3 separate regions of the Homo sapiens genome follow, and regions 2 and 3 are each linked to region 1. The links are contacts of gene promoters, found by promoter capture Hi-C in blood cells and fetal thymus (Javierre and others, 2016). All regions are on one chromosome and are shown on one strand. Each heading gives the region's core, a stretch centred on a gene start or on the middle of the fragment in contact. The rest is flanking DNA. Distances are from core to core; before and after follow the strand shown.

Evidence for each region. The method cuts DNA at HindIII sites, captures the fragments that hold promoters and counts their contacts. A CHiCAGO score of 5 or more calls a contact.
Region 2: the fragment with the promoter of HINT2 here is called in contact with a fragment that was not itself captured in region 1 in 1 of 17 cell types (erythroblasts); the score reaches 5.9 in erythroblasts.
Region 3: a contact is called between the fragment with the promoter of TLN1 here and a fragment that was not itself captured in region 1, in 1 of 17 cell types (erythroblasts). The highest score is 6.0, in erythroblasts.

The regions. Positions count from the first base shown.
Region 1 is chr9:34,645,121-34,648,358 of GRCh38, reverse strand. GALT (galactose-1-phosphate uridylyltransferase) reads right to left here and starts at 1,684. Exons shown (of 11, transcript NM_000155.4): 1 at 1,573-1,684; 2 at 1,101-1,270; 3 at 792-867; 4 at 654-702; 5 at 398-527; 6 at 188-244; 7 at 1-25. The coding sequence starts at 1,654. RefSeq lists enhancers at 1,080-1,259, 1,830-1,939, 3,153-3,238 and a silencer at 3,153-3,238. The HindIII fragment of the contact is 523 bases long and covers 989-1,511 here.
Region 2 is chr9:35,813,550-35,816,787 of GRCh38, reverse strand. It overlaps HINT2 (histidine triad nucleotide binding protein 2), which reads left to right and starts at 1,746. Exons shown (of 5, transcript NM_032593.3): 1 at 1,746-1,889; 2 at 3,004-3,144. The coding sequence starts at 1,809. It overlaps FAM221B (family with sequence similarity 221 member B), which reads left to right. Exons shown (of 7, transcript NM_001012446.4): 7 at 1-397. RefSeq lists silencers at 1,104-1,283, 1,614-1,933 and an enhancer at 1,374-1,553. The HindIII fragment of the contact is 5,278 bases long and covers 1-3,238 here.
Region 3 is chr9:35,730,436-35,733,673 of GRCh38, reverse strand. It overlaps TLN1 (talin 1), which reads left to right and starts at 1,479. Exons shown (of 57, transcript NM_006289.4): 1 at 1,479-1,599. CREB3 (cAMP responsive element binding protein 3) reads right to left here and starts at 1,008. Exons shown (of 9, transcript NM_006368.5): 1 at 773-1,008; 2 at 531-678; 3 at 392-459; 4 at 189-278. The coding sequence starts at 901. MIR6853 (microRNA 6853) reads right to left here and starts at 752; the gene lies at 679-752. RefSeq lists enhancers at 883-972, 1,023-1,072, 1,873-1,922 and silencers at 1,203-1,362, 1,403-1,692. The HindIII fragment of the contact is 10,307 bases long and covers 1-1,903 here.

The DNA of each region.
Region 1 (3,238 bases), core at 1-2,500:
CTGGCAGGAAACTGCTGGCCCATACCTGTCAAGGGGCAAAAGCAGAGAAGAACAGGCAGGTCCTTTACCTCCAAGCCTCCACATCATTGGCATATTTCCTCTGTCCCATCCATTAATCCTGTTCCCATGTCCACAGTGCTGGCTCAGACTCAGCCAAGAAACCCACTGGAGCCCCTGACACCCTTACCTGGCAGTGGGGGTGGGGGTTAGAACAGCCCATCATGGCACCTTTGTTTTCAAAGATCTATCAGATAGGGATACGGAGCTCTGTTAGCCAAAAGACACCAAGTCAACTCCCTCCTGACCACACCCTGTGGAAACAGAAATGTTACTCCCCAGAACCAAAGCTTCATCACCCCCTCCCTGCCCATCCAGGGGAAGGGGCGACCTCACAAACCTGCACCCAAGGGTACTGGGCACCCAGCTCCTCTGTGACTGAGGCCCATGCATCAACAACAGCCCGGATCTCAGGGACCGACATGAGTGGCAGCGTTACATCCGACCAGGGGTGGAAGCACATGACCTTACTGGGTGGTGACGGGAGAAAAGATAACCGAGAGGTAGGGCTTGGCTGTGCTACGGGCAGGGCCGAACCCCAATGCTGAGTCTCCAACTCTGGTTTGAAAGTTGTAAGAGGGGAAATCCATAGTTACCAGACTCCTCGAGCAGACTTTGCTTGGAAAAGGGGATGATCACTGGGTCCTGAGGTAAAGGAGTATCACTCTCTGCAGCAGAAGTCCCTCAAGAGGTCTAGCCACCCTCCTCCCCAGCAGCAGTTGGAGCCAGGTTACCTGGACTGGGGGCATCAGGCTGCAGAGCTGGGAAGTCGTTGTCAAACAGGAAGGTGCTATCGTACTGGGGATTCACCTACCGACAAGGATAGGCTAGAAGCACTCACTGCCCCATACCACCAGTTACCTGGTGGGCTTCAAAGACTGGACAGGCTACAAGGGAGTAGGGAAGGCCCACCCTAGGGGACCAAAAAGCTTGGTGGGATATGACCCAGAAGGAGGTTCACTATCCCTGTGGGTGGAGGACAGTTCTAAGAGGGAACTACTCCCCGTGGCCCAGCCTGCAGATGCAGGGCTCTACAGGCTTACCTCTCCGTTGGCTCGGATGGCCCCAGGACACAGAGGGTTGAGAGGGTCATGGCGGGGCACTGTCTTCAGAAGCTGGGGCTCCACTTGACCCTGCCAGGGCCGCTTCATGCGGTGAGCTGACACCAGCACCCACTCATCCTGCAGCGGGTTGTAGCGGATATGCTGATGGTCTGGGGGCAGACAGTCAAGATCAGTCCTCAGAGCTCTCTAGCTCCCTCTCTCCTGGGTCTCACCCACCAGCAGGCCCAAGCTCGGGAGCGCCCTCTCGGCCCTGTCCCGCTCAGGAGCTAGAGGCCCAGGATTGGACTTTCCCAGCGCCAATTGGCCTGCTGCTCGTACAGGCCTGCAGACTGTACGCCTTGTCGGTCTGGCTCGGGATGAGCGTTCCAACCTTCGGAGGGGACGAAAGCTTCCTAAGGAAGGGGAGGGCTCGGCTCCGCGCCCCAGCGAGTCCCTGCCGCGGTGCAGTTACCGTTTGCCCGGAAGGTTGCTGCTGCGGCGTCCGCCTCTGACGCCTGCTGGCGTTGCTGAGGATCGGTTCCACTGCGCGACATGAGGCCACCGGGGGATCCGCTGGAAAATCTGCAGGGCCGTGCCTCACCTTTCACTTTCTCCGTCCACACCACCCCTCCCCGCGCCGCCCCCGATGATTGGCCAGCCGCCAGCACGTGACTGACTGACTGGGCTGCCCTGCCACCTGGGGGCGGGGCTCAGAACAGCTGTGAACCCTGGGGGCCGACATTGATGATCCTACTTCACCCAGAGCTAGAGCCACTACACTGGAAGAACCTCTGTGAAAGCTGCCTACTGCAGAATCCTTGGGCTCCAGGATGCCTACAGGACTTGCTTGCTGCAATCATTCATTTGATCTTTCATTCAGCAAATATTTACCAAGCATCTAGCATGTGCTAGGCACCTAGGCTGTGTAAAGCATTGGGATGCACATGTCAGGCATGGCCTCTGCCCTGCCTGAGCTTACATTCTAGGGCGAGTAAGGATATGACCCTGGATCAACAGCGCCTCAGTCACCTGCTCAGTGGCTGTAGCGCAGGAGAGGCAAACTTGGTGGGGTCTGTGTGGAGTACTTCACCATAACCATATCCTATCCCCAAAAGCAAAAACAGATTTGGGAAAAAGGGCTAAGTAACCATATTCTCTTTTTCTCTCACTCTTGCTCTCCTTCCTCTCTCTCTCTCTCTCTTTTTCATACACACACCAAGACAGCACAAGAAGTGGGAGGGGTAAAAGGGCTATAAAAAAAAATCTAAAAATGGCCGGGCTCGGTGGCTCACGCCTGTAATCCCAACACTTTGGGAGACCAAGGCAGGCGGATCACAAGGTCAAGAAATTGAGACCATCCTGGCCAACATGGTGAAACCCCGTCTCTAGTAAAAAAAAAAAAAAAAAAAATTAGCTGGTCTTGGTGGCGTGCACCTGTAGTCCCACCTACTCGGGAGGCTGAGGCAGGAGAATCACTTGAACCCAGGAGGCAGAGGTTGCAGTGAGCCGAGATTGTGCCCATGCACTCTAGCCTGGCGACAGAGCAGACTCCGTCACAAAAAAAAAAAAAAAAGTACAAGAAAGTCTAAAAATGTGGAGAGTACAGGACTATCAGAAGCTCCAGCCACCATCTAGGTGGGGCCTAGTGTTTCCTTTACACATCCCCTTCCCTTTTCTAAATTTTCCTTGGATGGGACCAATTGGCTAACACTAGGATAAAATTCAAATTAATTCCTCCCCTGGTACTTTTGTTTGTTTGTTTGTTTGAGAGAGAGTCTCACTCTGCCACCCAGGCTGGAGTGCAGTGGCGTGATCTTGGCTCACTGCAACCTCCACCTCCCAGGTTCAAGCGATTCTCCTGCCTCAGCCTCCAAGTAGCTGGAATTAGAGCTGTGTGCCACCACACTGGGCTAATTTATGTATTTTTAGTAGAGACGGGGTTTCACATGTTGGCCAGGCTGGTCTTGAACTCCTGACTTCAAGTGATCCTCCTGCCTCAGCCTCCCAAACAGCTGGCCCCCAGTACTTTTAAAGAGCCATCTAAATATTGTCTAAACCTCTTCCCCATTTCACATTGGAGCCCAGAGGACTCAAGGTCACCCAGAGAATTAGTGGCCAAGCTGAGATTTGAATGCAAG
Region 2 (3,238 bases), core at 497-2,996, 1.2 Mb before region 1:
TCACAGAATCAAATGTCTGCCCTTTAGAGGAGAAAGGATTTTCTAACAATAATATAGCTATACAAAAGAGATTGTTATATCTCTAGAAGCAAAGTTCCCCAACAGTGGTTATATGCCCCATGATAACCATTCACCTAAAACTAATTCAACTAATAGTCAACAATAGAGTTAGGATTACTATGATAAACTCATTGAAGGAAATAATAAGCAGCCAATACAAACTATATTTACGTAGACTGTAAAAATATGAAAAATTGATTACACATGGGTTAGTATCATATGCAATACATATTACATATTATGAAAAAAAGACAGGAAACACCAAATGTTATTCATTCAACAATTACTGACCACCTATATGTATCAGGTCATGTGTTTAAAAAAAAAAAAAAGAAAAAAAGAAAAACCAAAGAAACAGTGGTAACTTGTCCTATGTGATATCAGACTAAAACTTACCTAGCGTCTGAGAATATTAGTATTTTGTGACCCCACGTTTCTTATGTCAAAAATATATATTCCAGCAGTGCAAACCTGACTTATTGGTGCCTCATACCTGTAATCCCAGCACCTTGGGAGGCCGAGGCAGGAGGATCACGAGGTCAGGAGATCGAGACCATCCTGGCTAACACGGTGAAACCCCGTCTCTAATAAAAATACAAAAAATTAGCCGGGCGTGGTGGCGGGTGCCTGTAGTCCCAGCTACTCGGGAGGCTGAGGCAGGAGAATGGCGTGAACTCGGGAGGCGGAGCTTGCAGTGAGCCGAGATCGCGCCACTGCACTCCAGCCTGGGCGACAGAGCGAGACTCCGTCTCAAAAAAAAAAAAAAAGAAAAAAGAAAAAAAGAAAAAAAAAGAAAACACCAGGCACCGAGCTAACTGTATCACACACCTTTTCCGATTAGAAAAGAACAATGAATACATACTCCTTTGCTTATTATAATTCTTGTGCGGCAAATATAGGACACTCTTATCTCCTCCTGCTCAAAAAAAAAAAATGCAAAAACCACAGACTTTTTAATCTATGGAGTGAATGCGTTAACAAGAACATAGAATTAAGGAAGAATTTCCCTTAGATAAGTACATTAAAATCTCCAAAATGCTCAAGGGACTGAAACTGCCCTTGTGGAGAAAATGCTGCGCATCAGCCCCGCCAGTTAAAACAAACAAACAAACACAAAAAAACACACCTCATCCCCGTTCACCTTTAGCCCCACCCCGGGTGGTTCTTGGAGCCAATAAGCGCCGGATGCCCTCAGAGCCCCGCCCTCCTCCTGGCCAAAGCGGTGAGAGGGTCTAAAACAGCCCTTTCTGCAGCAGGTGGCGGAGCCCCGCCCCCTTCTCCCCGCGCACCAATAGGAACCAGACCTGAAGAGGACGAACCAAGAACGAAAAGAACCACCCACTCGGGAGCCGCAACCTAGAAGCCAGAGTTGTGTATCAGATTCAACTAGGAGAAAATCCCACCTCCAGGCTCCATTAATCCTTCCAATGGAGTGGAAGTTTCTCTCACAGAGAAACTAGTAAGGGGATCCAATGGGAAAAGAACGTTCACACGGACTAGAAGACGAAACCAATGGAATGGAAAATTGTCCTCGCGTTGGTAGAAGCAGCCAATGAGATGAAAAGAGCCCGCCTCCAAAGTGGCTGCAGAGGCAATGGGGTGAATCGTGCTCAGAGGCGCGCTCCAATGGGGTAGCAGGGCTCGCCCGGCCGCCACTACCCCGCTTCCCCGCGCCCGGAGTCCCCACCCACGGCCGGCCGCGGAGCCGAGTGCTGACCCGGGTGAGAGGTTCCCGCGGCTCAGGGAAGATGGCGGCAGCCGTGGTGCTGGCTGCTGGGTTGCGCGCGGCGCGCAGAGCCGTGGCGGCCACGGGGGTGCGCGGGGGGCAGGTGAGAAGTGGCGCGGGAGCGAGTAGGGGGTCCTGCGGGCTCCGAAGCCATCCGGGGCCAGGGGGTCCCGAAGGCGCGCAGAGCCGCGCAGAGCTCCTGCCTGTGGCCTCTGCCCCTCCGAGGCACAAGCTCCGGGGCTGTGTGGTGAGGTCGAACTGGTGGCTCCGGAGAACGAGCTGGTGCTGATTCCCGCCCTGCGCAGGCCGGGGCGCCGAGGTCGGGACAGGGTCAGTGCAGCGGCTGCCGCCTTCTTTCCACTGCCTGCAGCCCAGCTGGCCCGATGCCCCCTGCAGGAAATGAGCTTTCTCTTCTTGGAGCCAGTGCTCTGCCCTCCTCAGGCTTCTGGCCTCCTAATGAGCACTAGTGTTAACCTCTCTTCTGCACTTGCCAGAAGCGGCTCGGAGGTCAGAGAATTCATTCCGTCCCGTTCTCCCCCAACGTGATGCAATGACATCAGCCTTCTCTGAATCCCTTACCCGAAGTTCCCTGGGGCTAGGGGAGCAGAGGTCACTTAGCTGAACTCTTACCTCCACTCATTCAAGGGACAAGAGTTAAAATTCACAGAGTCACATGTGACACCCAGATGAGGGGTCAACTAGTGTCAAACAGGGCGATTGCATTAAAACTTAAATAAAACAGGCGACAAGGCTTAAAGATCAGAAAACAAGTAACGGAAATAAGTGGAAATGTACTAACAAGGTGAGAGTGGAAAGAGATTCAAGCCATCGCAAGAGATTATGGAAACCATCCCTTTATTTTATATTAGAAGCTGAGAGAAGGAATTTATCTGAGGTAATTCAGTGGTATGGTAAGGTAGGAACTGAGACCAAAATCCCCAGTCTCTCATTCTAGATCCTTTCCCTAAACAGTGCTATATTTCGTGGACACATGAGCAGGAATCAATTGCACTGCTGAATCCTGATAATAATACCGCCTGTTATCTAACCAGGTCCAGCACCTTCTGGCCCTACCCTTTGCTGCTGGTGCTCTGAAATTCAGGAACTTTCCTCCTGGGTGGGAACGATGAATAGGTTATTAGAAGGACGAAATTAACAACTATCAGAGCCCAGCTTCTGCCAGCTCCCTCCTTTGAATATGGTCGATCCACCTTCAGGTCCGAGGAGCTGCAGGTGTGACTGATGGGAATGAAGTGGCCAAGGCCCAGCAGGCAACTCCTGGGGGAGCAGCCCCAACCATCTTCTCCCGGATCCTGGACAAGAGCCTCCCAGCTGACATTCTCTATGAGGACCAGCAGGTGGGGTGCTCTTAGGACCTATCCCCTTAGGAATGTTGTAGATACCATCCAACCTGTTGAAGTAACGTGGCCTCTGGCCTGTCACTTCCCCCAG
Region 3 (3,238 bases), core at 230-2,729, 1.1 Mb before region 1:
AACAAAAACGAGGATCTGCCCTTGCATCTGGCATATTGTGTACCTGCCTCAACTTCCTATTAGCAATAAATCTACTAAGTTTCTCACCTCAATCCTTTTTTAAAGTTATTGATATAAAGTTAACAGAATTTGCCTACTTGGGACTTTTAATCCCTTTTCAGCCTTTGTTCAACCAATGAGAGTCTTACCTTAGTGAGAGGAAGTGTCTCAGGCAGAATAAGCCCCTCCTTCTCCAATAGACTCTTCTCCTCATCTGTCAGTACTAGCCTAGCAATCTCCTAGGGTAACAAGAAAGTGGACGGCAGTTGCATGGGGATGTCAGAGAGGAATGGGGAATCCTGCCCCCACCTGGGGAATGTGAGAGTAATCTCCTGAAAATCAAGTCAAGTACCTGCTCTGCCAGCTCCTCCATATGCTGTGGAGTCATCTGGGTCCCCTCTTTTCTACAGCTCTCACTCTCTGCAAAAGGGAAAGTATGAATAGCCAGGCCCATGAACCCTGTCCTCCCCGCAAACTTATTTCAGACTCACCTAGATCCATAGAGACAGTTTCCCGTGGGAGGGAGTAGGTGTGGTCATGGTGGACAAGGCAGGGGTTGGAGGAGCTGAGAATGTTCAACGACGCTGGGGGACTCAGCAGGGAGCACAGCAAATCATCTACTTCCCAGTCGCTCGGTACCTGCGCAGGGTTCCAATGAACAGGCCTTGACCTTATCACCATCACCTGACTTCATGGACATCCCACGCTTTCCCCAGTCAGAACCCCAACCTACCTCAGAAAGCGGCAGCGCCCAGTCCAGTGGGGCCCTCACGGCCTCATCGGGTGCCGTCCCCAAATCTCCACTTTCCTCTAGCAGGAAGGCCAGCAGGTCTTGGTCACCAGCATCCAATTCCAGCTCCATTTGGGACAACTACGGAAAGGGTGGGCCACCGGGCCCCAACGTCCGAAGCCCAGACACGAGCCCCAGGCCAGCTGTAGGCCTCGGGCACCTATCCACTGTCCCTCTACGGCCGGGATTCCCCGCCGGCGGCTTTCCATAGCCCTCTCCGGACCCGCCTCCCAGGCTCAATTCTCCTCAGCCTCCAACGCAGCGAAAGTGACGCACCCCACCCCGTGGCACTGTGGGACTTGGAGTTCCCTCCAACTGAGAAGAGGCTTGGGTGCAGCGCCACGTCCCAGGGGCTATGCAAATGTAGGGGACGGCCCTGCTGCCGCCTCGCACCCCGAGGGCGGGGGTTCCGGGGCTCCGGCTCCGCCTTCTACCCCAAGCTAGAAAAAGGAAGAGTTCTAGCCTGAAAGGGAACTCGGGCGTCGTCCTGGCGTCCTCTCCGGATTGCGCCGCACCCTCGCTTCCTGCCAGGGAGGGGCTGCCGGGCTTTGGCGGCTCCCGAGCATCGAGAACGGGGCCAGAGCAGCTTCCTGCCTGCCCCCCGCGACCATAGAGCGCGGGCCCAGGGCGCCGCCCGCGGGTGGGGGACGTTCCCAGGACGGAAGTGGCCGAGAGAGTGTCGAAGGGAGGGCGAGGCCGGAGCCCGAGGGCGACCCGAGAAGCGGCGGGGCGGCGGGCCGGCGGGCGGGGCGCAGAGCCAGGCAGCGCAGGTAGGCCAGACCGGGCCGGGCGGGGGCCTTAGGGTGGGGCCGCGGGGCCTGGCCCCGGGGCGGGCGGGCCCTGCCTCTCTTGCGTGTCCGGTTCGGGTCCTATTAGTTGGAGAGGTCAGCGTCCAGCGCATCTCGGCTTGAGCTCGGCGTGAAGTAGGCCGTCTTGGGGAAGACAGGCCTTTCCTGGGAGCAGTCCTATGTCTGGGATAGGCTTTGGGGAGCGTGAGGAGTCGGGTGGCAGCGGGGCGCAGGGCGGGGACGGGCTTTGGTGTTAGCTGATAGCGGGCATGTGGGTAGGAAAGCTTTGGGTGAGTTGGGGATTAGGTGGGGTCCGTTTAGGAATCAAGGGTCGCTATAGGAGTTAAAAGCTGGGGTTAAAACTTAAGAGTTAGTGTGAGTCAGGTCCGTTTTAGATAGGTAAGGTTTAGATTACGGTCATTATCTTGTTTGCTGGGATGGCCATCATACGTCATAATTTGAGTTCAGGGTCAGGTTAAGGGTCAACAAACAACAGGAATCAGGTTAGAGCTTGTTTGAGGGATTAAAGAATGTTGGCATGGTCGGTGTTAAGGATAAACAGTGAAAGCGTGAGTTAGGAATCAAATTATAAATGAACTTTAGGCTTAGGGGTCAACATTTAGGGTTAACATCAGGGGATTTGGTGCTAAAGGCAAAACTTAGATCAGTTTCAGGGATCAGGGATTGGATATGAGTCTGTGCTAGGAAAGGGATGAATGTCCAAGCCGGTACTGGGAATCAGGAAACAAATTAGAGGTGGGGTTAATGTTAGGAATTTGGGGCAGCTTTAGGGGTTGTGGTTTGAGGCTAGCATAGTTGACCTTGAGCAGATAAAATTTAAGAGGTTGGCAGTAGGTAAATGCCCTTCTTTTGTAGGGAAATCCTTTATTCCTATGTAGTTACAGGGGCTTCTTTTTACCCAGAGAGATAAACTAATTTCAGGCTAGCGTTCTGGCTTTAGCTAGAATTGCAGGCATCTGGGATTCCAGCTTCTTTATTCCATTCTCTAAGCCCAAGGCCCTTGCTGTGGCCACCACAGTTAGGGGACAGAGATTCTGGACTGTGTTGTTTACAGACAACATAGGTGGGAAATAGGGACCCAGGATGTACAAGGCCTAGTCACAAGTTGGGGACTGCCTAGGGAAGAAGGAGCTGATGACTATGGGGGAAGCTAACCAAGGAATCACTGTTGCCATGGGAGAAGGGAATAACTGAATCCCCTGAAAGTTTAGCCCTGCTTCTCCCACTTCACTTGTTCTCTTGGTATTAAGCCCTCCTCTCCAACTCTCATCCCTGACTCTGCATTTCACACCCATCCTGCCTATCCCCTTACAAAATACTTCCCTTGCCTTTAACTCTCCCATGCTCATCTTATCATCCGTTCCCATCCTTAGTTCTACCTCCCTCACCAACCTTTAATCCGCACATCCTACCTGAATTTACCCTCATCAAAACCTGAGCTTTCCCATCATTTTAAATTACTCTCCTACCATTTTCACCCAGTCATGTACCTACATTCCACCTGGTCATCTGCTGAATACCCTACTCCCATCCCCTGCTGTGTGTCACCCCCTGGATCTAAGCCTCTTTTAATTTCTTGGACCATTTGTAGATCCCCTTC